6 separate regions of the Homo sapiens genome follow, and all the other regions are linked to region 2. The links are contacts of gene promoters, found by promoter capture Hi-C in blood cells and fetal thymus (Javierre and others, 2016). All regions are on one chromosome and are shown on one strand. Each heading gives the region's core, a stretch centred on a gene start or on the middle of the fragment in contact. The rest is flanking DNA. Distances are from core to core; before and after follow the strand shown.

Region 1 (4,906 bases), core at 1,319-3,818, 2.1 Mb after region 2:
TTTTCAATTCCAGTTTCTTAATTTTTTATTATATTCCCCAGCACAGAGCAGTCTTTGTACCTTTGGATCTCCCTAAATGTTTATATCCCAAAGTACACAGAGGTGTGAAAAATATGACTCATGTTCTTGATAAATTCATATTATAAGACATGGCCTTGAAAATGAAAAGCTAATGAAATCCTTCTTTCCTCTAAATTTTCTTTCATGTCAAAGGTTAGTCTTGCTTATTCAACAACTTAGACCTCAGCACTTGAAAAATAATGAGTCTATCCAAGTGGTATCAACAGCTAAGGTTTTAGAAACATGAAAAGAAAGTCTTTAGAAAACTAACTCAGGGTTAGCAGTTAGAGAAGAGTTCACAGTTTTACTAGTCCAGAGATAAATTACTGCAAACTAAGTAACTGATATAACATACTCATTTGCTAACTCCCCCATAGCCTACCAGAAAAGGTTTAAAATGAGGACTTTTGACATAAACTGCCTTGCTCACTCTTAGAACACACTAAAATCTCAAGTATTTACCCTATAAAACTGTCAAGAATGTAACAAGTTTTTAAAAAATTCATCTCTTTTCTAAGAACAGTATAAGAATTATACCTATATTTTAAGCCAACAACAAATCCAAGCTACAGATTATCCATTGAATAGAACATAAATTTTTGTAATAAACTTATTATTTGTTCTTTCTTTCCCACCATTTTCAGGTTAGTGACAGCAAACCTCTGACAGGCCACCAAAGAATTTAGCTAGCAAATAACTTTGCGTATCAGCCATACCCCATTCCATTCTGGAAAAGACTGGGAATTCTCTTTGTGTTTAGTTTGCACATGGAATGTTATGACGTGAGGAAAACTAGGAAGGCCACAAAACTTGCCTGCCCCGGTGCCCTTACTTAGGCTCTGTGTCATCACAGACTATCTCTTCTACTCTATGACATCTTAGTTTGTATTAAAGCAAAAATAATAAGTAACAGGTAGTGAGTGCTTACTCTGTGCCAGGCACTGTTTAAAGCACTGACAGAAATTAACTCAAATAATATTCATAACAATTTTTCCTTCCCTTGGAATAAAAAAAGCAAAACCAACTGAGAATATGGGAAAATGAAAACAGTCTATTTGAATGGCTAAATTATGAATTAATGTTTTCTTTCATTTTGATTGTCATTAATGTTATTACTATATTCACATAGTAAATACCTATGTGAAGTTTCTTTGAAACCTCTTCCAAATGCTATTTTTCACCTGGAAAATGAGGATAATAACAATACTTTCCTCATAGGGCTGCTGCATTAGTTTTACATACTGTAAAAATCTTTCCAAAATGTCACTTGTGTTCATATAATATTCAACTGCTTATTGGATCTCATCAGACTTCTTAGCTGGTCATGCAAGTCCTCTTTTTTATCTTATTGCTTTACCATGTCACCCTCCACCCCAATTGGGCCCACGGCCACACCTAAGTCATTCCCAGCTCCCTATCTTAACTCACTTTCTCCCTCCAATCTCCTTGCAAATGTCCTCATCACTCCTCTCTGCTAATCATGTCTTCCCCATCCTTCATCATCTCATTCACATTTTCCTCCCTCTTTTTATGTCTTCCCCATACTACATTGCATTAACTGACATGCACTGAGTGCCTATGATGCACTTGGCACATTTTGGGTGTTATTTAATCCTTTCAGCAATCCTAGAGACAGTTAATAGTATCCCTATTAGACACATGAGGATTAGAGAGACTATGATTTATGCAGGGTGGCAGAGCCAGGGTTCACTCTCAGTTATCCTAATCTATCCTGCACTTAAGAGCTTGCTCCACATAAATGAACTCTTAAATTTATATTTTCTGGTAATGTTCTCTAATTGTTTAAGATGTATGAAGTCTATGTGATCTCCTATGTTCTTTGAGGTCCAAATCTCATGCAGGGCACACCATAAGCTTAGTTAATACTGATAACTTGAATTGGAAAAACTGATGTGAAGTTCCAACAAAAAGTTACTCTTTAAATATTAAATCATCCCCAAAATTTTAAAAGAACTGTGAACTACCAGATGTCTCAGACAGCCTGGTAGAGGCATCAGGAAAGCAACATCATAGAGAAACACTCACTGGATGTTTGAAGATGATGAAAAAAACTCTTTCGGGAATTGGATCTTTGACAGAATGAAGTAGAACTATCAGAGGAAGATCCAAGCCCTGCAAAACATAATGCACACAGACATTTAACTTCCAAATAGTTTACGTCTTAGGAAGGAGTGGGAAAGATAAATAAGGTGTTTCCTTCTATCACTTTCATGTTCTAAACCATTTCCTTTTTTTTTTTTTTTTACCCTAGAGGTCCATGTCAGCTGAAACAAAGTTTTAGAAGACAACTAAATTGGGCTGTTTCACTACCACTAAGTAAATTCTGACATAATTCTTTGTCCTCTGTCCAGAGGCCATGGTTCAAATACAAGGAGATGGAACAATGCCTGGACATATCTCAGCAATTATTCACCCAACTCTACTCTGGAACCACAGAGGAATATCTAGTCAGGTACCCTAGACTGTCATCTCTGTCCCCACACACCAGGCACTGCAACTGTACTACAGAACTTTCAGCTTTATTGGTACCCAAGGGATGGAGCTATAGTCCAAGAAGCCCATAGCCACAGAGCTATCAGGAGAAAGCAAATCCTTGATATCCATGAGTTTTAATACTAGCCTGTCACTGACTATACAGATGGGCCCCAACTTACAATGTTTCTACTTTACTATGGAGTAAAAGCCATATGCCTTCAGTAGAAAGTGGTGCCATACTCTCTCGCACTGCTGGGCAGTGGCAGCAAGTCACAGCTCCCAGTCAGCCATGCCATCACAAGGGTAAACAACCTCTATGGGGTTCTGTGCTGCCAGATGACTTTGCCCAACTGTAGGCTTAGTGTTCTGAGCACATTTAAGGTAGGCTAGGCCAAGTTATGAAGTTCACTGGGTTAGGTATATTAAATGAATTTTTGTCTTGCTATATTTTCAACCTAGGAAGGGTGTATTCAGACATAACCCCATTATAAGTGGAGGAGCATCTTCACCTCCAAAAGAAAATTCCTACCAACACCTTTTCAAGCAGTCTCATTGGCAACCTTTACATAGTAATATTTTCCATCACCATGGCCCTTGCTGCTTCTTAACAGCTAGTCCTTTGGAAACAGAACAAATTAGCAGCTAAAAGCTTCTAGCCCCTCAGCGCAGTCTTGCATATGCTGCATCTGAGTTTCTTTGTGACTTTTATTCAGAGCATGAGGTAGCTGGAGCGCAGCCGAACTCATCCTTCAACAGCCTTGCTCATCTGGTTTCAGGGGCCAGAGACAACACCCCAGCTGCCAGTTCCATGCCCAGTGACAGGGTGAATGATCTTTTCCACAGAAAGGCAAGGTTAATAAACAGTCTGGATCACAGACTTCTTATTCTCTCTTCTCTCCTCCCCTCTGCAGTGCCAAGGGACTTCCCTCCGTTTTTTAATGCCTTCTGTCATCAAACAATTAAGCCCATTGCCAGGCACCCACCCCTAGTGCCCTGTTTGTAGAAAATACGTATGTAACTAGACTGGGCCCAGCAGAGCAAGGGGGCATGATCTCTTACTGAGATGAAATTTGTTCACTAGCACACTCACATTCTCAAAAATTGGTTTAAATACTTCTAAAAAAATTAATAAAGCATTATTACCTACTCAAGTTTCCAGGCACATTTACACAAAACACCCTATCAGCCAAGAATGTATTTGCTTTGGGTTTTTCTTTTAAAGAAATTGCTAGGCTATCATATAAAAGCCTCCAAAATATAAGTGTATATAACATACACATATAAAATATTTCTATATTATATATTTATATATTGTTATATATTATATATTGTTATATATAAATATATAACCTCAAATATTTTTAAATGTATATTTATGTATATAGCTACATATTATTTATATTTTGAATTTTATATATTATTTATATTTATAAATTTATGTATAAGTATAAAAAATTATATAATATATACATGTTTTGGGAAAGTAGATATTTTATATAAAATATATTAACATAAATATATGTAACACAAATACTTCAAATAACATATTTATATAAAATGTATTTTATATATAAATATGAATGTTTCCTAAAATACTAATTAAAATACAAATACAAATACAAATATGTGTGTGTGTGTATATATATATATACACATATATATGTACATATATATGTATATATATACGTATATATATATACATATATATATACGTATATATATATACATATATATACGTATATATATATACATATATATATACGTATATATATATACATATATATACGTATATATATATGCTCTTACCCCAAAAAAGACCTGTGAGAGTCTCTCAAGTCCTATACTGAAATTTCTTCCACTCCTTATTTTCTTTTTTTGTTTGTTTATGTTATGAACAGGGAATGTCATGACAATTACAGAATCACATCTAATGAAGTCTGGCTCTGCTATTGGTTCAAATGAAAACTTCAACAGTTCCACAACCTTGAGGTGTCCTCACAGTTTACAAACAACTCTCTCATTTTCAAGAGGAAGATAAGGGGATTATAAGTAAAAGTTTCATTCCAAAATATTGACTAAAATGCCAACCTATTATTATGGATTTCACGGGTCAGTATAACTAATCTGAACTAACTAGAGACTAAACCTGAAGAGACAAAGTGTTTCAATGGAGGTAAAACAATGACAGCATTTATTCCCAAATACAGAAATAATTATCATGGCATAATGTAGTCTCAAGGCTTGGAAAACAGGAGCTCATCAGTTGCAAAACGTACCTAACTCACAAGGAATGTATGAGTATGAGAAAGCTCTCAATGCACAGTTCCTCTTGGTTTATCTTGTATTAATT
Region 2 (4,803 bases), core at 617-3,116:
ACTTTAGTTAATCTACAAATATTTTTTGGCTAAATTATACCAAAAATAATGGTGTTAGGATTGTAACTTAAGAAAAATACGATTTTTGAAAAACAGGCTTAAATGTCTCTAAAAAGTCTAGAGTCTAATGTTTTCAAGTTTTAAAATACATAAATGGTTAAATTTAACTTTTTTGTCTGTTTCCAGTTAACTCATTACATTACAGTAGAGGAATATGTAGAAGTTAGCTTTTTAACCTAAACAGAGGAATTGGTGATAGCTTTAGAAATCATGTTTCCATAAATCAGTTTTGAGTTACAGGCTGCCTGCATCATCAAGACTTGAATTTGCTGTCTGTCCTACTATTCTTGATTTTTTTTTTTTTACTCTAAATAAGAAAGGCACTAGGAAAGTCTTAGAGATCGTTTTCTTTGCTGCTATCCCTAGGCAAGAAGCAGGAATTAGCCTTGTAATCCGATCCTTTTAGTCTCTGCATTTAATTTTAAGCAAGAAACCAGGAGACTAAAGATGTAAGACTGACGTAGAACAGCAGAGGGCAGTATTTACTCATGACTGAACCCTCTCTGGGCGCAGAAAGTTTTACGTTTGTGAGGGATCCTTGTGGCAGAAATGTATGACATATGCCCTGTATTTGCATTGTTTGGCTTGAATTCTTATTTTCTAGGTTGGTTCCCTTAAAGGGGAAAAATATCGATCTGATTCCTAGTAACGTTTTTCTTCTTTTAAAGAAACGATGCATGCCACCACAAAAATTAACTGCAGTGAATAGTGGGTGAGTTGATCTGAGTGCATTAAGTGGCATGTGGGTATTTTTAAAAACTTAAGCTTAAATATTATTTTATTTATTTCTACTTTCTCGTATCTATTTCTCCCAGACTGAAAAGCAAAATAAAACTTTATTAGGTTTCCTTTGACTAAAAAATGTGGAGGTGGAAATACTCCATCAGGGATCAAAATTCCAAACTAACTTTGCAACAGGAAAAGATCTCCCTCTTTTCAAAGGGCTGCCATTATTATTGTTGTTGAAACCCTAAGGTTTGGGCTACTGGCACCTGGAATCCAGTTGGGAAAGAAAACAAAACAAACACTGAGTTCCCCTGGCCTTTCCTATAGTAGGAAGTCCAAAGTGCCCTTGCTACGGAGGCCTCCTGCCCCCTAGTCACCTGGAAGGTGGGGGAGAGGGGCAAGTGAGTGAAGATTTAGAGTTTAGCTCGCCCTAGACAGCAGGGAGCCCACTGTGTAGAAAGAGGAGCAAAGGGGAGGATTTGATTTGGATTCTGTGGGATCACACTGTATGGCAGCTCTATCCCTTGCATAAAGAGAGAAGGGGCAGGAAATGGTTAAAGCAAATCTGCACTGTGCATTCCCAGACAGGCTTTGCTTAATCCTTCCTCCCCGCTTTAACAGACCCTCACCCCCCGCCTTTCTTTTATTTCTCTCGACCCCCTTACCCCTGAGTTATTACTAGCATAACAACCTAACGGTCTTCCCCCAGACCCTGCCACTAAAGTTATTTATCTGCAAACCTGACCCCACCCCCATCTATTCTGCGGCAGCCTTTTGCTGTTATTGCTCTGACGCCGGCCAAGATTTGGCCGAAAAGGAAAAAAAAAAAAAAAAAAGAAAAGAAAAAAAATCACCCCCCTTTTTAGCGCCTCCGCCTCGCTGTGCTCCCACACCAGACCGCCTACAGCCCTCCGGGAGGCTGAAGTGATTAGCATCCCGAGAAGCCAGTCGGAGGCCGGGCAAGGCGGAGGGCGCTCGCGGTAGGAGTGCCGGTCGGGGCTGCTTCAGCTCCGGCCCAATGGGGCTGGGGCGAGGGAGGGGCAGAAGGTGACAGGACTGGGAGCTAGGGGGAGTCCAGGCGAACTAAAGTGCGGGGATCAATGAGTGTCGAGCAAAGTTTCTGAGTGCTGCTCCAGCTCGCGGTCTTCCCTCCCCCTCTGTTTGTGTTTCGGCGACGCGCTGTGTGTGTGTGTGTGCGTGTGTATGTGTGTGTGTGTGCATGCCTGTGCGGCGGGGAAGGGGCGGGGAGAGTGTGAGGGACCAGGCGGGAGGTGGAGAAGGGCTCGCGGAGCCCTAGCTCCACCGCAGTCCAACCTTCGGCCCCGGCCGGCGAGAGGGAGAGCGCTGACAGGCGCCGTCCGGAGCTGCGGAGGGCGTCACTACAGCCCAGCGCCGACTTCGCCGCCTCCGCTGCCAACTGTGAAGGAGAGAGAGGCATCAACCACCCCCCGCCCCAAACAAAAAGCCTTGTGGATTACAAAGTGAAACTGACACGGGACAATAAAAGCAGAGATAGCGAGGGCAGGGGCGAGGCGCGCTAGAGTGGGCTTCTGACTGGGGCCGCCGGAGAACGACCCCCCCTGGCATGGTGAGGGGAGGGCGACTCGGGGACCGCACGCTGTTTCTGCCCGACCCCTGCGAGGCCGAGAAGAAAGGGGAAACTGCGTTCGATTTGGATGTACAAATAATGGGTCGGCAGGCGCCCCGGCAGAGGTGAAAAATGCCGAGGAGCCCTGGCTGTTGTTTGTGCCGGACCACGGGCTTGAAGCCGCAACAGGGGCGGCGGCGGCGGCGGCTGCAGGAGGGGAAGGGGCAGAGTTGAGCGCTCCCGGGTACGGGAGCCAGAGCGCGAACGCTAGCGCTTGGAACGCAGTTCCCGAACTGCCTGCGCGCAGACGCCGCCGCCTGGGCCTCAGCGGCCACTGCCGGCGCCCTGTTGGAGGGGCGTTGCAGCCTGGTTTTTGAGGAGTGGGGACTCCAGGAATTCCATCGCCTCCAGCTTTTGGGAAAGAAATTCGATTCTCCCGGTTCCCCACCACCCCTTCCCCGGTGCGCAGTTGTGCTTGGACGTTTGTTCCTCCCTCTTCACGTTCTTCGCTGCGGGTAAGTTCTAAAGTTTCTGAAGACCGTTCTTTGCAATGATTCCTCATATACCTTAGATACAGGCAACTTCTCCCAACTCTCATCCACCCGGGTGAAAACGCTCAGACTATCTGGATTCAAAAACAAAGTAAAAGGGGGCATATATAAGAGGCTTGAGAAACTTTTCTGGGAACTCAGCTCACAGGAGTGTCCCGCGGAATGCCCTGCCGCTTTTCGCCACAGCATCTCTCTTGCACTCCGCGTTCAACTGGCTACCTAGAGTCTTTTGCTGATGCTACTTGCTTTTGCCGGACTGGAGGTTCTTTGAAATAGCAGAGGTCTCAGACCAAGCCGTCAGCTGAATCTTTGCTGGCGCTCCTTAATCCCTGTAAATATCATTGCGTTTGCTTCACCCCTTCCTTCTCTTTATCACATCGTTTTAGGGAGCCAGGACCATGGACTTAGCACCAGACAGGGCTACTGGCCGCCCGTGGCTCCCGTTGCACACTCTATCAGTATCTCAGCTCCTTCGAGTGTTTTGGCTACTGTCATTGCTTCCGGGGCAGGCCTGGGTCCACGGGGCCGAGCCGCGCCAGGTGTTCCAAGTGCTGGAAGAGCAACCTCCAGGCACTCTGGTAGGCACCATCCAGACGCGCCCCGGCTTCACCTACAGGCTCAGCGAAAGCCACGCCCTGTTTGCCATAAACAGTAGCACCGGAGCCCTGTACACCACCTCCACCATCGACCGCGAGAGCCTGCCCAGCGACGTGATCAACCTGGTGGTCCTTTCCAGCGCGCCCACCTACCCCACCGAAGTGCGAGTGCTGGTGCGGGACCTCAATGACAACGCCCCCGTTTTCCCGGACCCCTCTATCGTGGTCACTTTCAAGGAAGACAGTAGCAGCGGACGCCAAGTCATCTTAGACACCGCCACCGACTCGGACATCGGCTCAAACGGTGTGGACCACCGCTCCTACCGCATCATCCGCGGCAATGAGGCGGGGCGCTTCCGTCTGGACATCACCCTGAACCCGAGCGGCGAGGGAGCGTTCCTGCATCTGGTGTCCAAGGGCGGACTGGACCGTGAGGTCACTCCGCAGTACCAGCTCCTGGTTGAGGTGGAGGACAAGGGTGAGCCTAAGCGGCGGGGCTACCTTCAGGTAAACGTGACTGTGCAAGACATTAATGACAACCCCCCGGTTTTTGGCAGTTCTCACTACCAGGCGGGGGTGCCTGAGGACGCGGTTGTGGGTTCCAGCGTCCTCCAGGTGGCGGCGGCGGACGCGGACGAGGGCACCAACGCGGACATCCGCTATCGCCTGCAGGACGAGGGGACCCCCTTCCAAATGGACCCTGAGACGGGACTTATCACGGTGCGGGAGCCCCTGGACTTCGAAGCTCGGCGCCAATACTCGCTTACGGTGCAGGCGATGGACAGAGGCGTGCCTTCCCTCACTGGGCGCGCCGAGGCGCTGATTCAGCTGCTGGACGTGAATGACAATGACCCGGTAGTGAAGTTCCGCTACTTCCCGGCCACCTCGCGCTACGCCTCGGTAGATGAGAATGCTCAAGTGGGCACCGTGGTGGCTCTGCTCACCGTGACGGACGCAGATTCTCCCGCGGCCAACGGGAACATCTCCGTGCAAATTCTCGGGGGCAATGAGCAGCGCCACTTTGAAGTGCAAAGCAGCAAAGTGCCGAACCTGAGCCTAATCAAGGTGGCCAGCGCCTTGGACCGCGAGCGCATCCCTTCCTACAACCTCACAGTTTCCGTCTCTGATAACTACGGGGCGCCCCCTGGCGCAGCAGTCCAGGCGCGCTCTTCTGTGGCAAGCCTGGTGATTTTTGTTAATGACATCAATGACCATCCTCCTGTCTTTTCACAGCAAGTGTACAGAGTGAACCTGAGCGAGGAGGCGCCTCCGGGAAGCTATG
Region 3 (4,814 bases), core at 409-2,908, 2.1 Mb after region 2:
TGCCTTGACATAAAGCTAAACGATTTAATTTTAAATTGCTATCAATAAAACTTGGAGCAAGGTATTAGACATGAAATTTCACTCATTACATATAATTTTCTCCAAAATAATAACTTGTAGCATGAATTATATTTCCTCTTTGAAAACGCAAAGTTGTCACTAATCCAGATGGGTAACTCTTCCAGATTTTAGATTGCAGTTTTTAAAACTTATTTTCTAACAGAGTAATATAGAGCCAGCTGGTTCCAAAGAGCTGGATCATCTGGTAAAACATGTATTTAAAAGAATAGATTGCAACTCTGAACATCTTGGACAAAAAATAAAATGAAAAACTATTCTGTCCATCCCTGGGATTTGAGCTTTCAAATCAACCTATCCAAAAGGAATTCAGTACATGTATCAATCAAAATGTCAAGACAAAATTATAACAAAAGGCAAGACAACCCTAGAATAAGATGAATGCTCACAATTTCTAAGCCCTGCAATTTCTTGAATTCACCAACAGTTTCACACTCAGTCAACAACCTATATCAATCAATTTTTTAAAAATAGAGAGCAGGCCGGGCGCCGTGGCTCACGCCTGTAATCCCAGCACTTTGGGAGGCTGAGGTGGGCAGATCACGAGGTCAGGAAATCGAGACCATCCTGGCTAACATGGTGAAACCCCATCTCTACTAAAAATACAAAAAATTAGCTGGGCGTGGTGGCATGCACCTGTAATCCCAGCTACTCGGGAGGCTGAGGCAGGAGAATGGCATGAACCCAGGAGGCAGAGCTTGCAGTGAGCCGAGATCATGCCACTACACTCTAGCCTGGGTGACAGAGCAAGACTCCGTCTCAACAAAAAAAAAAAAAAAAAATAGAGAGCAGACCAGGTGCAGTGGCTCACATCTGTAATCCCAGCACTTTGGAAGGCCGAGACGGGTGGATCATCTAAGGTCAGGAGTTCAAGACCAGCCTGGCCAACATGGCGAAACCCCATCTCTACTAAAAATACAAAAAATAAGTTGGGCGTGGTGGCCGGTGCCTGTAATCCCAGCAACTTGGGAGGCTGAGGCAGGAGAATCACTTGAACCTGGGAGGCGAAGCTTGCAGTGAGCCGAGATCGCACCATTGCATTCCAGCCTGGGCAACAGGAGGAAAACTTTGTCTCAAAAAAAAAAAAAAAAAGAGAGAGAGAGCATATATTCAAATATAAATGGATTTTTGTCGTCCAGATATTCTTCAATAGACAGAACGAAGATGTGTTCTATACATGCATCTGTGATATAATTCTTATTGACAGTAAATACAGCAAAGTCTTTCTCAGATAGTTTTGAGAATTTGCTGCCAGTTCCAATGGGAATGTAAAAAAATGTGTTACCGCTAATGTTACTTACATCTATGATGTGTCACATTAAATTCGCAATAGCTAATGCGTTTGGTTCCCAAATGTTCACATAAAAAGTAATGGTTTAAAAACATATAAGCAAAATTGAAATGAAAAGCCTAATAATTTAAAAAGTGATGGTATCTTGACAGATTATTGCAACCAGATCTTACAAAGTTTATGGAGGCACCCAGGAATTCAAGAGAAAAGTATAGTTTTCAACTAAAATGACTCAAGTCATTGAATCTTTACAGACCAGGCTACCCATGCTACACTGACTTCATGAAACTAAAACCAACTTTTCCGCTGAAGTACCTTTTCAATAATAGAAATAAAAGCACTTAAAACAGAAATTTGGTGAGACAGTGTTTTTCATCCAAAACAAATGTTCCAGTTTTATATTTGTTTCAATTAGCTTTTACTTGTATACCAAATAGTCCCAAAACTTAATGACTTAAAATAACAATCATGTTTATCTCCTATAAGTCTGTGAATTGACTGAGCAGATCTTCTGGTCCTCACCAACTTGGCTGGGACTGAATAATCTAGTATGGTCCCACTCACATGTCTGAGGGTTGGCAGGCATGTTGGTTTAGAGAGACCTGAGCGAGGACAGGTCATATGTGTTCCATGTGTTCTCTCATCCTCTAGTACAGCAGTGTCCAATCTTTGGGCTTCCCAGAGCCACACTGGAAGAAGAATTGTATTGGGCCACACACATAAAATACACTAACGATAGCTGGTGAGTTTTTTAAAACCGCAAAAGAATCTCATAATGTATTCAGAAAGTTTACAAATTTGTGTTGGGCTGCATTCAAAGCTGTCCTGGGCTGCATGTGGCCTACAGGCCGTGGGTTGGACAAGCTTGCTCTAGTGGGACTTTCAGAGTTTCTTTACACAGAAGTCTCAGGGTTCCAAAGAATAGCAAGATAGGGTAAGCTCCGACATGTAAGTGTTCATCACACTAGCATCTGCCAGTGTCCAATTAACCAAAGTAAGTCACATTGTCAAATTCAGTTGCAAGGGTAAAGAAAATTGACTCTGTCATTGGGGGATGGTTAACGGGCACAAAAAAAATAGTTAGAATAAGACCTACTATTTGATAGTACAACAGGGTGACTATAGTCAATAATAACTTAATTGTATATTTTAAAATAACTTAAAGAGTGCAATTGGATTGTCTGTAAGACAAATGATAAATTCTTGAGGCAATGAATATCCCATTCTCCATGATGTGATTATTTCACATTGCATGCCCATATCAAAACATCTAATGTACCTCATAAATATATATACCTACTATGTACCCCAAAAATTGGAAATAAAATAATGTTTAAGAAATAGAATCCATCATTGATATTTTTTCCAACTAACCATACTATCATCAACTTTCAGTTAAAGATCGATAGCCTTGTTTAGGGTTTGAGATATAGGGAAATTTTCTTATGCCAGTGATAATGTTGCTTCTCTACTTCTGAACTGATGCTATAAGCTCTCTTCCTGTTTTATAGTCTTTGTTTATTTTCTTTCTTTTCCAGCCTTTCCTAGAAGGTGGCCAAGTAAAGAAAGCAGTTAATCAGGTAACAGAAAATATCAAGATTAATGTGAGAGAAGAGAGGACTATTACGTATTCCTTAATATCTCAAGCCAAGAAAAAATATCCAGAAATTTTTAATTTGCTTTATGTCCCATGGATGTGACTTAAGCATAGCTCTAGACTTCAGGAAAAAAAAATGATAGTGGTAGTTAAAATTAATAAGACAGAGGCAATTTGAGATCTAGAATGGGTGATTTATTTTTATCTCAAGTAATGGAAAAATGAGGTTTTTCTCAATATTGCAAAAAAAAAGGTAAGTTATCCTTAGTACGGAAAACTAAGGTAGTTTAATTTTTATAATACTATTTAGAGGCAATAATTCAAGAACTAATGCCAAACATAATTCAGCTTGCTTTGCTAACATTATTAAAGCAATGAAAATCTAGTTTTTAGAAAGAGCAATAATATAATGGCAGTCATTTTTTCACACAATCTGATCAAGAACACTTCATCAGGTGTAAGTGACAAGAAAGAGTTTCATTACCATCTTAATGGCAATTAAATAACCACTGACATCATTGGTAGGAAATGTCTTTCATCACCATTTCAGATTTCTTGAAATAGCAGGAAACGTGATTTTGTTATTGTAGTGTTATGCAGTTAGGGGGTATAATGGTCCCACAAAAGTAAAAACAGAGCATGAGCTTTAATGACAATCACCATCACTTTCTTGTTTAAGACAAAGTGAACTCTACGCATTTGATCAAAACCCCAACTAGACTTATAAGGCATCTTTTTCTTGTCAGTGAAATCATTTTTACTCCATTATAGAATTGGTTATTCCAACCTAATAATATAGGCAGTGAGCTGTGGGATTTAAAGTAGAGCTATGCATGTGGAAGTCAGAATAATCCAAACATTTTTCCACTGGTATCTTAAGATATCACATTTCTTACTTTTGCCTTTAAACCCACTCCTAACCATTTTTCTTTTATTTGGTCAATACATAATAGAAACTTCGTGAAATGTTTTTACCTTAAAAACTCAAAATGCAAAATAACATATAATTTTGTGATATTTCATTCAACTCAATAATCGTTTCCATATTTTTTGGCTCTCTCTGGCCAGTGTCAAACTGTTTTGATTATTAGTTGATGAAAATGAGAATTTTTCCCCCTGTACACTGCTATTCAGCTTTCATTTAATAGCAGTTATTTCCTCTGATATCACAGCTTGCAAGCACTGCTTAACCATTTAAATCATGTGCTTCAGATTTCTGACTTTACTGCAAAGTAATCCTGTATGGAAGTCTATCTGTACTCCCAGAAGAAATTTTATCCATTGGCAGCGATGGTATCCTTCAGAATTTAAAGAAAAAGAGACCACCATGATTGCAAAAATATTATGTGCTCTTGTTCTCTTGAAAATATAAAAATTCACAGACAAAAGAGTGGACAGCATACTGCAGTTACTCTTCTTAAATTATGGTAGAGTAAAATATTTTTGCCAAGCTTAAAAAATCTCCTTACCCAAAGAATCAAGTAAGTTAAACATGACCAGAAATATTTTATACTTTTGTTTGTATATTTATTTATATTTGGTTTTGTTCCAAAAGTCTACAGTAATAAGCACATAAAATTTTATGGTATCTCAAGTAGACTTCAACTCCTTAGCGAGGTTTAGCAGAGTTAGGAATTTTTCAAACTTCTACAAAAATTAGATTCAGACTACAACTGACAAAGGTTCCTGGTACAAGAAGGATTATGGCCCAGAAGATACCTCAAATCTCATCTGGATCTAAATTTGACTCTCAAGTGGCCTATGGCAGAACCACCACTGGATGTGTTTACTCTTAGCAATTAACCTTCTACTCCCTTTCCTTCTCCCCTCACCTCAAGAGCTAATAGC
Region 4 (4,756 bases), core at 315-2,814, 2.2 Mb after region 2:
AAAGCACGATTTGCAAATCAGGCACCTCCTGAACTAGAATAGTTTCAGAGAAGCTCTGGTGTAGCTGCCTGGTCAAAGATATATGGACAGAAAATGGAAAGTGACATACAGAAAACAGAAGTGAAGTACAGAAACAGCCAGATTGGTTACAGTTCAGCATTTGCCTTATTTGAACAGCTGGTCGCCTTTGATGGACCAAAACTCAGTGATTGGCACAGGAATAGGTTATAGCCTGTTAACACATCCAGTTAGGCTACAGTTCACCGTGTAGGAAGAGAACTTGAGGTTCAACTTAATATACATAAGAAGACTGTTTTACGTTAAACTTAATTTAGCATTATAAATCACATACTTGCCATAAAGCCTGCACTTAGGCAAATTCCCTATGCTATATAAGCCCTGGGTTTGGGAAATAAATGGGGAAGGGATCCACCATCTCCTCTCCCAACTGCCCAAGACACAGCTTCTGTTTGTAAGTCCCTATTAATTATTTCTTTCTGAGAACCTGGATTTGTCAGTCTCTTTCTTTGGCTTAGCTTCTTTGGCCTTTTGCTGGTAGGTTTGCATAGAACAGATCTGTTCACCATGGAACAGATGAGTTAATGCAATATACTAATATGTTAAATGCCTATCACAGTGTCAGACCAATATTTTTATCATCATTAACATCAAGGAAATGAGGAGAAAACTGGTCCCGGGTTTCTGTTTTTGTTATCTGGAGATAAGTGTTTATGGAGATAAAATAGAAATTGAGTAGAATGGCAAGTTCTGGACATGTTAAGTACCTGGTACATATTAGGTCCTCAATAAAAATCCATTGAGTGAATGAATAAATTAATGCATGCCATGTCTACGGGACAACTGAAAGAAGATCTCTGCTCACATGTATCAGAAATTCAGGAGGTGGCCCTGGACTACAACTGTAAATCTTGGAGTCACTAGTGTTCAGATATTCTTTGAAACTATATGACTGACTTCAATCAAGTAAAGCATGAGGACAGATGAAGAACAAGGGAAGAAAAAGAAAGCAACATTTTTAAGACAAGACAGAGGGGAGTCAAAAAAGCATTCTGATAGTTATTTACCATTTGCCATATTTATCGTTTAGCAAAGGAAACTTATTTGTAACTTGTGATATTTATATCAAATAGCACAAGACTTTTTTGAACATTGTCATAACCTTCATGTAATAGTATGTGCCAAGATTATAAAGGGGAAAAAAGACAATAAAACCTGTAAGACAAAAGGAAGCCTCCCTTTTCCCTTCCCTTTACTGGAATTTTTATGAAAACACTTCTTTTTTAAGTTCTGAGAGTATATATCCCAGATACTTGGTTAAATATAACAGACACATATGATAGATAAGGGGGAAAGGAGGGTAGTATTTCTCCTATTAAAAATTGGAAAGGGAGATACTGGCTAATGCAAATGCTGAATACCAAATATGTTTCAAGGGCTTCAGGACATTTCCTATTTTCATGGCTAATTTATTAATCTCTAATAGCCATATGCTCTTCAAACACAATATTCCATAAATATGACTCCTTTCAAACGTGATTTTTTCAGTCATACCAATGAATAATAAAAGAGAAATGGCTGTATATTGAGTACCCCTTGGTCTGTAAAACAAAGACTTTCAGTCCACACACGGGGTAAATGTCCACCACAGAGAGAGAGAAAGGGAGAAAACGAGACTCAAAATAATTTAATAATAATAATAATAATAATTTGCATTATCTTTCCTCTGGCAAAATTTATACAATACTTAATAAGCCTCATTATTATTTCCTTTTCTTCTCAATTTGCATTAAACTTGCAAGGATAATGTGGAAAAATTATACTAGTTAAAGCCTAGCTCCAGGCCACAAGGTTTTTTTTGTTTTTTTTTTTGAAACGGAGTTTCACTCTTGCTGCCCAGGCTGCAGTGCAATGGCGCAATCTCGACTCACCACAACCTCTGCCTCCCAGGTTCAAGCGATTCTCCTCCCTCCACCTCCCGGGTAGCTGGGATTACAGGCATGCACCACTCCACACCCAGCAAATTTTGTATTTTTAATAGAGACGGAGTTTCTCCGTGTTGGTCAGGCTGGTCTCAAACTCCCGACTTCAGGTGATCCGCCAGCCTCAGCCTCCCAAAATGATGGGATTACAGGCATAAGCCACCGCACTCACAGGCCACAAAGTTTTTAAGAACAATTCTCTTCACTTAGGAGCTGACAGGAAATCTCCAAAGATGCTGTACACTGTTCTGGAGGAAAAACAGTGGATTGTGTAACCTAGATCCAAATACCTCTTCTTTTGTTTTTTTTTTTTGGAGATGGAGTCTCGCTCTGTCACCCAGGCTGGAGTACAGTGGCGAGGTCTTGGCTCGCTGCAACCTCTGCCTCTGAGTTCAAGTGATCCTCCTGTCTCAGCCTCCTGAGTAGCTGGGATTACAGGCACACACCACCATGGTGGGCTAATTTTTGTATTTTAGTAGATATGGGGTTTCACCAAGTTACCCAGGCTGGTCTCGAACTCCTGAGCTCAGGCAATCCGCCCACCTCAGCCTCCCAAAGTGCTAGGATTACAGGTGTGACCCACAGCACCTGGCCTCCAAACACCTCTTTTTAAATGCATGTACAGATATCAAATGATATAGAAGAAAAATGTGTTTTTCTAAAGATGAAAGTTACCATTAATCTTAACTTTCCTTCTCACATTATTATAATTCTTAGGGTTTTTTTTTTTTAACACATGGTTCTTTACATTTACAATATATTGCATAATTATTTTTTCCACTTCAACCTGTGATATTATATACATATAAAGCAGCCTCTCCTTTTTTTCCAATTTCTTCTCATAACCTAGCTACCATTATAAAGGTCCTATCTTTGCATGGGAGAGCCCACAGACCAAGCTGACTTCTATTTCATTTCATAGATATGGCAGTATATCTACTCTTTAAGCAATCATGTGTAGTACTGAATTCAGGCAAAATACATGTGCTTTTCCCCTAATATATAAAACTTAAATTGAGCATAGCCAGATGCTATTTATACTAAGAGTCTTCTCAGCCTAAGCTAAATTAATTCTCTTCCAAGTTCTTTTTATTCAGTGCTCTCAGCCTGGGTACCATGGCTCTAAATTCTTAATTGCCATAAAATAATTGTATTTCCCTTAGCTACGTCTGGAATATGGCTCTCAAAGATGACCTCCAGAATGTAATTTGCTATGTAAGGGCCCAGTCTGAGAATGATTTTACATACTATAACTGAACCTAATAGAATTCACAATAGCATTTCTCCTTTGTCAGGAAAGTAAAAAGGCAAAGATAGGCAGAGGTTAAAATAATATTTCTAAAATAAACCTTTCCTCCTAGTTATTTATCCTTACTTCTTCACATATTCCCAGGAAATATCATTGTCTAAGATTTCAAACCCAAAATCATTTCCCTTCAATATCAGGCAAATTGACAAATTTGAATTGTGCTGGATTTGTTATAGGAAGGGTATACTTTGAGATGGGGGAAGGGGAGGAATATGTTTCCCTTTTTAGTGCCTGCTTCATTCTTTAGAAGTAATTTCAAAATATTCTTATAGATTCTTATTTAAATAATCAAATCAAACCTAAAATATAGAAATTAACTGGAACTCTTCTTAAATAATTACCACTAAAACTAGCCATTTATTCATTCTAGACTCATTTCCTCATCTAGATTAAAGTCAAGGTCAAAAATACAACTACGTTAGTAAAACTCACCTCAAGATTTTAAAATGCTGACTATAGACAGAGACACCAGTCATAGAGAGTAAAGTGCATCTTACATTGAAGACATAGTATAAAAATAAACAGAAATGTTTCGAAAACATAGTAAGAATAAACTTTTCACTAGTAAAATGAGCTGCCTTCTCTACATAGGTGGGGAAAGACAGATTCTTAGCAGAGCGTGTTCTTACAGCTGTGGACATTTCTCATGGTCATGATATGTGAACCCCAACAAAACCACCCTCCCTCTTCTTTTTACCAAGAACATTTATTTATGACTTGGCTGCAAGATTACAGAACACGGTTTGTCATGGTTCTGGAAATTTTTTCCAGTAAGACTGCTCATATTAATTAGTTCTCAAAAATATTCTCAATATATAGAATTACAAGCCACTCTGCCTATTGCTTCCTAATCCCAATTCAATTTATGAATGAGGCACTGATTCACAGATGGAGCAGAATACATACAAGGCAACAGAGTCTCTGAGTACTTAATGGTGGCTGCATTACTAAAAAATCTTCCCAAAATGCAAGCATGACTGAAAAAGAGGAAGCCTGATGTACCCAGGAGAGGTATAAAGGAGACAGTTGTGGCAGTAAAGAGGCCAGAAGAAACATTTGAGAAAAGAAAGGAGGAAGGTGAAGAGTGCAGTCAAGTTTTAGCCACCGAATATGTGAAGCATTGGGAAATTTTTCAAAACAAAGCATAAAGTATAATTGGGACCAAAAATTGCACATACCGTATGACCCCAATTTTGCAATACAATTGTGTACTTTGTGGAAGAAAATACATCAAATATTAATAGGACTTGCGGTTCCCTGCCCCAGATTAAGCTTAACTTTTTCATTCTACTCTTCTGTGTTTTTAAAAATACACTGTGCTTTGTGAAACTGAAAAGTACATACCACACTGAAGTGTTTCGTGAAAATGCGGCTCCTTTCGTAGCTATAACTGATACAACGTGGCTTTCAATGCCCACGCTCAGTGGAGTTAGGAAGAAAAGTAAAC
Region 5 (4,715 bases), core at 786-3,285, 2.2 Mb after region 2:
TGTCAATTGTCTTTATCCCTCAGTACTGTCTTTAAATATAATATCCTGAATAAACTAAAAAATATCCTCAAAGGTCATATGAGTCTATAAGATAGATGTCTCATTAAAGAGTTTTCCTGAAGAATAACTGCCCCAGCCAGAGAAATTTATACCTGGCTTTAGAAAACTGCAAGCTATGTCAAATTGGAGATAAAGAAAATAATGTGTTGTTAAACTTGGTCCACCCTCCCAAATTTCCCCACATCCACTTATTTGCTTATGAGGCAGTAAAGTACAGTGGTAAACCTTTGGAGTCTGATAGACATTATTTCAAATCCCAGAGTCTTCATTTTCTAGGTAAAAATGAGGTTGGTAAATACCTACCTCACAAGACTGTTTCCATGCTTAAGTATGATAGTGTGTCTGGAATTTATTCCTTCCAGTGGGTTCTTGGTCTCACTGACATCAAGAATGAAGCCACGGACCTTCGCGGTGAGTGTTACAGCTCTTAAAAATGGTGTGTCTGGAGTTTGTTCCTTCATATGTTCAGATGTGTCTAGAGTTTCTTCCTTCTGGTGGGTTCACGGTCTTGCTGACTTCAGGAGTGAAGCCACAGACCTTTGCAATGCGTGTTACAGCTCTTAAAGGTGGCATGTCTGGAGTTGTTTGTTCCTCCCAGTGGGTTCGTGGTTTCACTGACCTCAGTAGTGAAGCCGCAGACTCTCGCGTTGAGTGTTACAGCTTATAAAGGTAGTGTTGTCTCACAGAGTGAGCAGCAGCAAGATTTATTGTGAAGAGTGAAAGAACAAAGCTTCCACATCACCAAAAGGCACCTGAGCAGGTTACCGTGCTGGCTTGGGTGGTCACTTTTATTCCCTTATTTGGCCCCACCCATGTCCTGCTGATTGGTCCATTTTACAGAGTGCTGATTTGTCCATTTTACAGAGTGCTGATTGGTGGATATACACTTTAGCTAGACACAGAGTGCTGATTGGTGCATTTTTACAGAGTGCTGATTGCTGCATTTACAATCCTTTAGCTAGACACAGAGTGCTGATTGGTGCACTTACAATCCTTTAGCTAGACAGAAAAGTTCTCCAAGTCCCCACTGGACCCAGGAAGTCCAGCTGGCTTCACCTCTCAATAGTGCATGGAAGTGCTTCCTTAGCACAGTATCTAAAGCACAGTAGGCACCCAGTAAATGATACCGTTATTATTACCTAGACTGCCTGTATTAGTTTGTTCTTGCAGTGCTATAAAGGAATACCTGAGGCTGGGTAATTTATAAAGAAAGGAGGCTTAATTGGCTCATAGTTCTGCAGGCTGTACAGGAAGCATGGAGCATGCATCTGCTAGGTTTCTAGTGAGGCCTCAGGAAGTTTTCAATCATGGCAGAAGGCAAAGGGGGAGCAGGCACGTCACATGGCGAGAGTGGGAGCAAGCAAGAATGCAAGGGTGGGGGGGTCCTAGACTCTTAAACAACCAAACCATTCATGTGGGATCAATCCCCATGATCCAGTCGCCTCCCACCAGGTTCCTTGGGAATCACATTTCTACATGAGATTTGGAAGGAACAACTGTCCAAACAATATCACCACCTTTCCCCGGTCCACTCTCCCTTTCATCCTGGCAAAAACCCTTCTATTATTTTGTTGCAAGAGTAATTGCAGTTTTTGCCCTTTTTTTAATTTTTAATTTTTTAAAAAAGTAATGGCAAAAAACACAATTACTTTTGCACCAATCTACTTATCCTGTAAAGCTGAGTTCAAAAGCCGTCTCTTCCATGATAAAGGGCACTCGGGCACAGCTCTCGGCACAGCTCCACTGAAGCACGTCTATCACTCACTGAGGCTCATTGGGTCATGAATGAGGAACCACCTCCTCCTGCCATTCAAGCATAGGGGCCTATTACATAAAGGGAAGAAAAATAAAAGAAGAAAATGGCTACATTTGTGATCCATCCTGCCATCACTGCTGACTCCAGTGGTATCTGTGGCTGATCAGGGAACTGGCTAAATATGAATATGTGGGAGACCAAGTAATATTAACTGAAAAAGATCTGCTAGAGAGTGGTTTCAGAGAGCATCCCTTCCACCACTGTGTGGTTGCAGAGATGCCCAAGAAACACTGGACTCTGGAAAGAAAGAATTACTGTTGGTTTCACCATGTACTGTTGTACCTATGACCCTTGAATTGGCAAGCTATTGTACTTCTTTGGATGAGTAATGAAAAAGGCTTTGGCATAAATCAGAAATTCTGAAGAATTTAAGCCAGGTCACAATGAAGTATCACTGTAGCACCATGCACTTCTTAGTAGCAGAATGAAATGAACCATCTGTTAACCTCTACAAAAGAAGAGGTGCCCAGGGAAGACAGCTGGAGACCCTTCAAAACCGACAAGGAGTACTTGCTAAAAATGGCAGCAAAGGACTGAAGCGGGGTGTAGATGATGACAACATCCATTCTACTTTAGAACAAATTCCCAACTTATCTTGCTTTCTCTCCTGTTTATAGTCAAATAATAGAATGAACACTCATTTCAAAATTTCATTACCAGTGGCACTGTTGCATGTTTGGAATGTCGTCTCTTTAAAATGACAAAACTGTATGCAATTTGGAGTAGATTTCTCCTTGAACAACTTTTGATAAACTAGGTAGTATGGTCTTAACATATATGAAAAAGTCATTCTTTTTTCTTTTTTTTTTTTTTGAGAAAAAGTCATTCTTGTAAATCATTTAAATGGGTACGATGTACACACTGGTATTTAGAGTTTCTGTTTTAATTCTTTTTAAATAAACTATCATTTAATCTTAAAAAAACGATATGCAAATCCAGCTCTCACAAACAAGTACAAGCCAGCTTCAGCACACCACTGTTTAAACTCTATCATCACCCCCAAAATTTTAATCACTCCCTTTTCTGTGGTCTCAAGCACATTATTCGTTTGACTTCTGTGTATGGGAGAATACTATGATGAGCTCAATACATGACTATTTCCCACAGTAAAATGTGAACTCCCTAAAGTCAGGAATAATTACCCATGTCACCCATTTTTAACACAATAGTTTTCTTCTGAATATAGCTAGCAACTAGAGTAAGCACTATATATAAATACAAATGATAAAGAGATAAGCCAAAGAAAAGGGAAATAATATTGACCAACCGTAAAGAAAACGATCTTTTAAAATCACAAATGAAGAACGGAGGAGGAGGAGAAAGATGAAGAAAAGGAAAACAGGAAGAGGAGAAAAAAGAAGTGAAGGAGAAAGAGAGGAAAAGATGGTAGAGAAAAAGCCCATAGAAGCTTCTGAATATAACAGTGTCCTACAATATGATCCCTTTTCAAAGTATTTAAACTGTGCACACCATGTAAATTTCACTGGTGGTCTTTATTTAAATTGCTATAAATTGATATGTATCTATCATTGATTAAAGGCAAAGTGTCAGCCCCATTTATTTTTATTTTATGTAAAGGAAAATTATGTTCATTTTTCTCAACATGTCATTGTAAAAGCTCACATGGTGAGAAACTTTACTTGTGGGAACTTTCACTTCTGGGTGAAAATTAAATGCTTAATTAAAATGATTTTTATTGGCCCTCTGTAACACTCACCTTTCTGAAAAGGGTTGTCATATATTGCAACACTTACAATGAAAAAGGCTAATTCTCCAGTCTAAAAATATTTCCATCCTGCTTTAATGATGGTTTAATAAAGAAAGGAACATATATATTATTCAGCATTTAAATAAAATGTGGCTTAACCTTTAAGCAGAAGTTTTTCATATTTTTTAAATTTTTTTCTTTGGAACTAAAATAAGACATATTGCATTGATTTAATATTCACATACCTGAAAAAAATGTTTGCCCTACTCCCTGGGGGCAAAATCATTTTTAAAATTAGAAATGAGTAGTTATGACTTTACACAGTATTCTTGTCTTTTGAATATGTTCCAGTCATCTACTTCTATTTAAAAACCACTCCAAATTAAAGTGGTTTAAAACAACAACAATCATTTTATTATCTTTTATAGTTTCCTTGGGCCAAGAATTTAGAGTAGGCTCATCTGGGTGGTTCTGGCTTAGGGCCTCTCCTGTATTGCATGTATTATACAAGGACTTAGAACTTTCTGAGTTTTACAAAGAATATTTTAGTCCTATCTAGCCCTTAAATCTTTGTCCTAAAGCCCGTTTTTGAAAACAGTTTGTTGTCTGAAATGACCGCTCTGAACCTTTTCCATTTTCTATAAATTCCACTCAAAACAGAATAATTTGTTCTTTTGTTCATCACCCTCCTTTCATTTTGTCATGGGCAGTAAGAAGCCAGATTGATCCTTCAACATTCCACCTGGAAATCTCATAAGCTGGAGAACCACTGAGTTCATTAGGCACATGTTCTACGTTCTACATTCATACAGGCAAGAATTTTGCTAAATTTTCTGTCACTACATAACAAGGGTTCTCTTTTTTCTAACTTCCTGTTACATTTTCTTCACTTTGCATTAAGCCCTCACAGACAGCCTTCAAGATCCGTTAGGCTTCTGCTAACACTCTCCTCAAGATCCTTCGAGCTCTCACTGACACCCTCCCGAGGTACTTTGGGATTTCACTAAGTCTCTTCTAAAGGATTCTGTCCACTGCCCAGTGGACAAGCCCATAGGTTTTGTTATGTTAGCACTCCATTTCTGCATCAAATCTGCTCCATTAGTCTACTGCTACATGATGAATCACACCAAA
Region 6 (4,858 bases), core at 45-2,544, 2.4 Mb after region 2:
AGCTTGGGCTTGTCTTGATATGGAGACCCCATCTCCACAAAAAATTTTTAAAATTAGCTGGATATGGTGGTCTTTGCCTGTAGTCCTAGCTACTTGGGAGGCTGAGGTGGGAGAATTACATGAGCCCAGGAGTTCAAGGCTTCAGTGTGCCATGATCTTGCCACTGCATTCCAGTCTGGGTGCAGAGTGAGACCCTGTCTCAACAAAAAGTTTTTTAAAAGGTTAACAAAGCTACATTTTTAAGTTGACACTTTCACTTTTGTCTGTCTTCTATCAATGAATACATGTCAGAAATAAGCTTGATATCATAAAGGAATATGATGTAAACATTGTCAGCTATCAAATCAAATGTTAGAGGAGGGTAGAAAGAGAAAGTTGCCCTGGGGAGCAGCAGAACACTTCCTTTCTGTCCTCAGAGATGGTTCCCTTACCTTTCTTGGATCTTAAAAAGACACTCTTACCTGTAGTGATTCAAGTAATTTCCCCCTTAAATTTCTCCGTATGTGCCTGCTAATGCTTCAAATTCCCTTGAAGGAGAACGAAACCTTTCATTTTTCAGATGTTTGCTAATAAAAAGCCAATTGTTTATTGAATTTACAATGAATTTGACAAAGGATTTTGAAGTCAATGCAATGGAAAGACTTTCAATTTTGTTTAAGCTTAAGAATTAATTAATTAATGCTTTAGACACATTAATCTGGCTGCTGCATGTGAAAGAGAGAAACAGAGATTCGAGTTGGAAAACCCAGTTAAGAGTTGAATAAGCCGGTCGGGCGTGGTGGCTCATGCCTGTAATCCCAGCACTTTGGGAGGCCAAGGCGGGTGGATCACTTGAGGTCAGGAGTTTGAGACCAGCCTGGCCAACATGGTGAAACCCTGTCTCCACTAAAAATACAAAACTTAGCTGGGTGTTGTGGTGGATGCCTGTAATCCCAGCCATTTGGGAGGCGGAGGCAGGAGAATTGCTTGAAACCCGGGTTTCAGTGAGCCAATATTGCACCACTGCATTCCAGCCTGGGCAACAGAGCGAGACTCTGTCTCAAAAAAAAAGGTTGAATAAGCCACCATGGAAAGGAAGTAGCACCAAACATATGATATCAGTAGGACTTGCCAACTGATTTTATGTGAGGTAATCAAAATATTGACAACATTCCTGGTCTGGAATCCTTCTGACCTAAATGGTTTTTTACTAGTGACAAGTACTAGTAGAAGGGTTATAACACATAAGACAAAGGAAAAATTAGAACCTAACATTCAAAAAAAGCTAAAAACTCATTTCACATTTTATAGATGTGTTGTAAGGCTCTGCAGGTCCTACAGAGTAAGAGGTGATAAGATGGGATCTCCATTTATTTCAAAACACCAAACGAGCTGTAAAAAGGGATATATTAAATGCTACTATAGAAGGATCTCCACGATATATTAAGTGAAAAAAGTGAGGTGAAAGAAAAAGACAAATGTTATGTACAGGCTAGACGTACCTCTACTGAGTATTTTTGCCGAAAGAAGTCAAACCTGAATCTGCCAACCTCCTCTAAATGAGTTCTCAAAGTGCAGTTTAGAAAACCCCTCTGTGTCACGGAGACAGGAACACCATGAAGTCAAAGGTATTTTCTTAAATGATACTATTATTTGCCTTTTTCACTTTCATTCTGTCCTGAATAAACAGTGGAGTTTTCCAGTGGCTACATGTATGATATCACAACAGACTGAATGCAAAAGCAGTAATGTGAATCTAGCTGTCTTTTATTAAATCAGACATTAGAGATTCAAAAATATAAAACAATACTATTTTTCTACTACATTTTTTATTTAAAAGTCGTACTTATGCTATCCTGTAATGGATTATTTTTATTTTAAATGAATTAAATATTTTTAAATCGTGTTTTAATTTCTGAGTGGTAAATGCCAATATACATAATAAAAACGGAAGCTTCATTGTGTCTTCAATAATTTTTTTTAAGAGACAGGGTCCTGCTCTGTTGCCCAGGCTGGAGCACAGTGGTGAGATAATAACTCACTGCAGCCTACAACTCCAGGGCTCAAGCATTTCTCCTGTCTTAGCCTCCTAAGTAGCTATACTTAGGACTACAGGCTTGTGCAGCCACGCCCAGCTATTTTTTTTTTTGTAAAGGAGGGGTCTCACTATGTTGCCCAGGCTGGACTTGGCCCAAAGTTTTGGGATTACTGGTACCTGGCCTTCAATAATTTTTCAGAGTGAAAAAGAGGGGTCCTGCAATCGAAAAGTTTGTGAACTACTCTTCTAGATAGGTCATTGGCCCTCAACCCTAGAATTAGAATTACTTCAAACACTAGAATTACCTGGAGAATTTAAATACTGATGCCAGGCCTCACTTCTAGACGTTCTGATTTAATGTGCAGGGCCTAATCCCAAGCATCAATTTGAAAAACAAAACAAAACACCCCTCATCCCCTTGAATGTGCAGTCTGGATTGAGAACCACTGCTCTGGATATTATCAATTTAAATACAATATGAAAAAGAGGAACATGTATTATGCTATGGGGGCACAATCATCAAAACGACACAGAAAGTGACTAGACAAAGGATCCCTGCTTAATTAAAGGAACAGATTAAAGCAATTTCCAAGGGAATTTGAAGCATTAACAGGCACATAGGGTGAAATTTAAGGGGAACATCACTTGAATCACACAACAGGTAAGACTGTCTTTTTTAAGATGCCAAGAAAGGTCAAAGGAACCATCTCTGGTCAAAAAAAACGTAACGGATTAAAGCGATTAAGAAAGTGAAGGGGGTAACACTAGGAACTAAAACTAAATTCTGTTAATCTCACACCGCTGGTTTACTGCTCTGGCCTAGTCTCAGCTACTAAATTTCTTCACACAGAACTGGCTCTCCTCGGCCCCTCCCCTCGCCTTTCCTGCTCAATGCTCACCGCCTCCGGACCCCTCCCTCATCAGAAAGCCCAGGCTCCGCTCGTAGAAGTGCGCAGGCGTCACCGCGCATCCAGGAGCCACGTGTCAGGAGTCACGTGTCAGGTGTCACGTGTCAGGCGTCACGTGGCTGGAGGCCGTTGGAGCGCCTGCGCAGCTTTTCCGCACGCGCCTCGCCGGCGCGCGGCTCTCTCAGCGTCCCAAGAGCCACTTTCTCGCCAGTACGATGCTGCAGCGGTTTTCCGGTTTTCCGCTTCCCTTCATCGTAGCTCCCGTACTCATTTTTAGCCACTGCTGCCGGTTTTTATATCCTTCTCCATCATGCATCGTGAGCCTGCGAAAAAGAAGGCAGAAAAGCGGCTGTTTGACGCCTCATCCTTCGGGAAGGACCTTCTGGCCGGCGGAGTCGCGGCAGCTGTGTCCAAGACAGCGGTGGCGCCCATCGAGCGGGTGAAGCTGCTGCTGCAGGTGCAGGCGTCGTCGAAGCAGATCAGCCCCGAGGCGCGGTACAAAGGCATGGTGGACTGCCTGGTGCGGATTCCTCGCGAGCAGGGTGCGTCAAGGCAGGCCGCCCCGACAGCCTCTCCCGGCGCCCTCGTCAGCTTCCCAGAGAAGAGGGTGGCTGGGAGGGGCATGATTGTGGGCCCCACAACCACAGCTACAGCTGTCGGTGATGAATTTGCTTCTTACCCTTCCAGAATTTAGTTTCTGAACCTAACAGGCTCTGCTTTTCCAGGGCCGCGTTGGTCCTGACCAAGTCCTGGTACCGGGGAGACCACTGCCTTCTCTTTCTCTAAATCTGCAGTGCGATTTACACCTTGGTGCACCTGTGCCAGGTCCAGAAGGAGAGTGGTTGACCTCCCAGGATTGAGGGAGATGCCATTAGGCACTCTGCTATAACTAGTGCTCTAAGTTGCTTAAATATTTGTTGGTATAATCACCCCACTATGCTCCAGCATGGGCGACAGAGGAGACCTTGAGTCAAAATCTATATGTATATTTGTTGAAATAGTATGTCTAAGAGAAGTACAAATATGGGAGCACTAGGGCTTACCAGTACTCTGAAACCTATTAGTGAAAAGAGGTTCTGCTTATTCTACTGAAGACCAAGGGGGTACTTCGTTCTGCCCAAAATTCAAGGGGGCCCTAAAAAAAAAAAACCCAACCCTCAGTCATCAAGATAAAAAGTATTTTAAGGCCAGGCGCGGTGGCTCACGCCTATAATCCTAGCACTTTGGAAGGCCGAGGCGGGCGGATCACTTGAGCTCGAGCTCAGGAGTTCTAGACAAGCCTGACTAACATGGCGAAACCCAGTCTATGCTAAATATACAAAAATTAGCCGGGCGTGGTGGCGCACGCCTGCAGTCCCAGCTACTTGCGGGACCCTGATGCGGGGATTTCAGGGAGCCCAGATCGCGCCACCGCACTCCAGCCTGGATGAAGGAGTGAGACCCTGTCTCAAAAAAACAAACAAAACTTTAGGGTCCTTCCGTTTCCGAAGCCCCTCTCTTTCAACTAGAGAGAGAGCTGTTCTCCTTTCTCTTTATTTTTTCTATTAAACCTCCACTCCTAAAAACAGGAAAAAAAAAAAACTTTAAACTATTTTAATGCAATCTTTTAAAAATCAAGTCATGCAAAAGAATTCATAACAAACACAATATATACAAGTTTAAAATAAAGATGGGATCAGTATTACCAGTTTTTCTTTTTGCATCAAGCACTGTCCTTATTTAAAATTTCATTTTTGTTCATCATTGATTTTTTCTATTAATATTGGAATGATTTAAAGAAATAACGAAAGTGCTTTGTGAACCATTGCTGCAAAATGGCTCCCAAGTTAGCTAAAGGGATAAGTCTATCAGATATTTTATATAATCCACCCATATAGTTGGATTCAATAGAAAAATCTGTATGATCTTTTAAAAAGAAATAGACATTTATTGT

Evidence for each region. Contacts are between HindIII fragments. The CHiCAGO score rates a contact against its expected background, and 5 or more counts as called.
Region 1: a fragment that was not itself captured here is called in contact with the fragment with the promoter of FAT4 in region 2 in 2 of 17 cell types (M2 macrophages and M0 macrophages); the score reaches 10.8 in M2 macrophages.
Region 3: a fragment that was not itself captured here is called in contact with the fragment with the promoter of FAT4 in region 2 in 5 of 17 cell types (M2 macrophages, M0 macrophages, M1 macrophages and 2 more); the score reaches 17.3 in M2 macrophages.
Region 4: a fragment that was not itself captured here is called in contact with the fragment with the promoter of FAT4 in region 2 in 3 of 17 cell types (M0 macrophages, M2 macrophages and M1 macrophages); the score reaches 13.6 in M0 macrophages.
Region 5: a fragment that was not itself captured here is called in contact with the fragment with the promoter of FAT4 in region 2 in 4 of 17 cell types (M1 macrophages, M0 macrophages, M2 macrophages and 1 more); the score reaches 9.2 in M1 macrophages.
Region 6: a contact is called between a fragment that was not itself captured here and the fragment with the promoter of FAT4 in region 2, in 1 of 17 cell types (M2 macrophages). The highest score is 8.8, in M2 macrophages.

The regions. Positions count from the first base shown.
Region 1 is chr4:127,412,970-127,417,875 of GRCh38, forward strand. It overlaps LOC102724210 (a long non-coding RNA gene), which reads right to left. Exons shown (of 11, transcript XR_001741824.3): 2 at 2,107-2,193. Among named protein-coding and RNA genes, the nearest start is that of INTU, 220 kb to the right of the region's middle. The HindIII fragment of the contact is 1,270 bases long and covers 1,934-3,203 here.
Region 2 is chr4:125,313,089-125,317,891 of GRCh38, forward strand. It overlaps FAT4 (FAT atypical cadherin 4), which reads left to right and starts at 1,867. Exons shown (of 18, transcript NM_001291303.3): 1 at 1,867-2,889; 2 at 3,312-4,803. The coding sequence starts at 3,324. The HindIII fragment of the contact is 5,556 bases long and covers 824-4,803 here.
Region 3 is chr4:127,394,516-127,399,329 of GRCh38, forward strand. The region is part of intron 4 of LOC102724210 (a long non-coding RNA gene); the gene reads right to left. Among named protein-coding and RNA genes, the nearest start is that of INTU, 240 kb to the right of the region's middle. The HindIII fragment of the contact is 1,145 bases long and covers 1,087-2,231 here.
Region 4 is chr4:127,465,459-127,470,214 of GRCh38, forward strand. All of the region lies in intron 1 of LOC102724210 (a long non-coding RNA gene), which reads right to left. Among named protein-coding and RNA genes, the nearest start is that of INTU, 170 kb to the right of the region's middle. The HindIII fragment of the contact is 6,029 bases long and covers 1-4,579 here.
Region 5 is chr4:127,496,409-127,501,123 of GRCh38, forward strand. No RefSeq gene overlaps it. Among named protein-coding and RNA genes, the nearest start is that of INTU, 130 kb to the right of the region's middle. The HindIII fragment of the contact is 2,494 bases long and covers 789-3,282 here.
Region 6 is chr4:127,727,311-127,732,168 of GRCh38, forward strand. It overlaps SLC25A31 (solute carrier family 25 member 31), which reads left to right and starts at 3,090. Exons shown (of 6, transcript NM_031291.4): 1 at 3,090-3,467. The coding sequence starts at 3,236. RefSeq lists a silencer at 2,810-2,967. The HindIII fragment of the contact is 1,274 bases long and covers 658-1,931 here.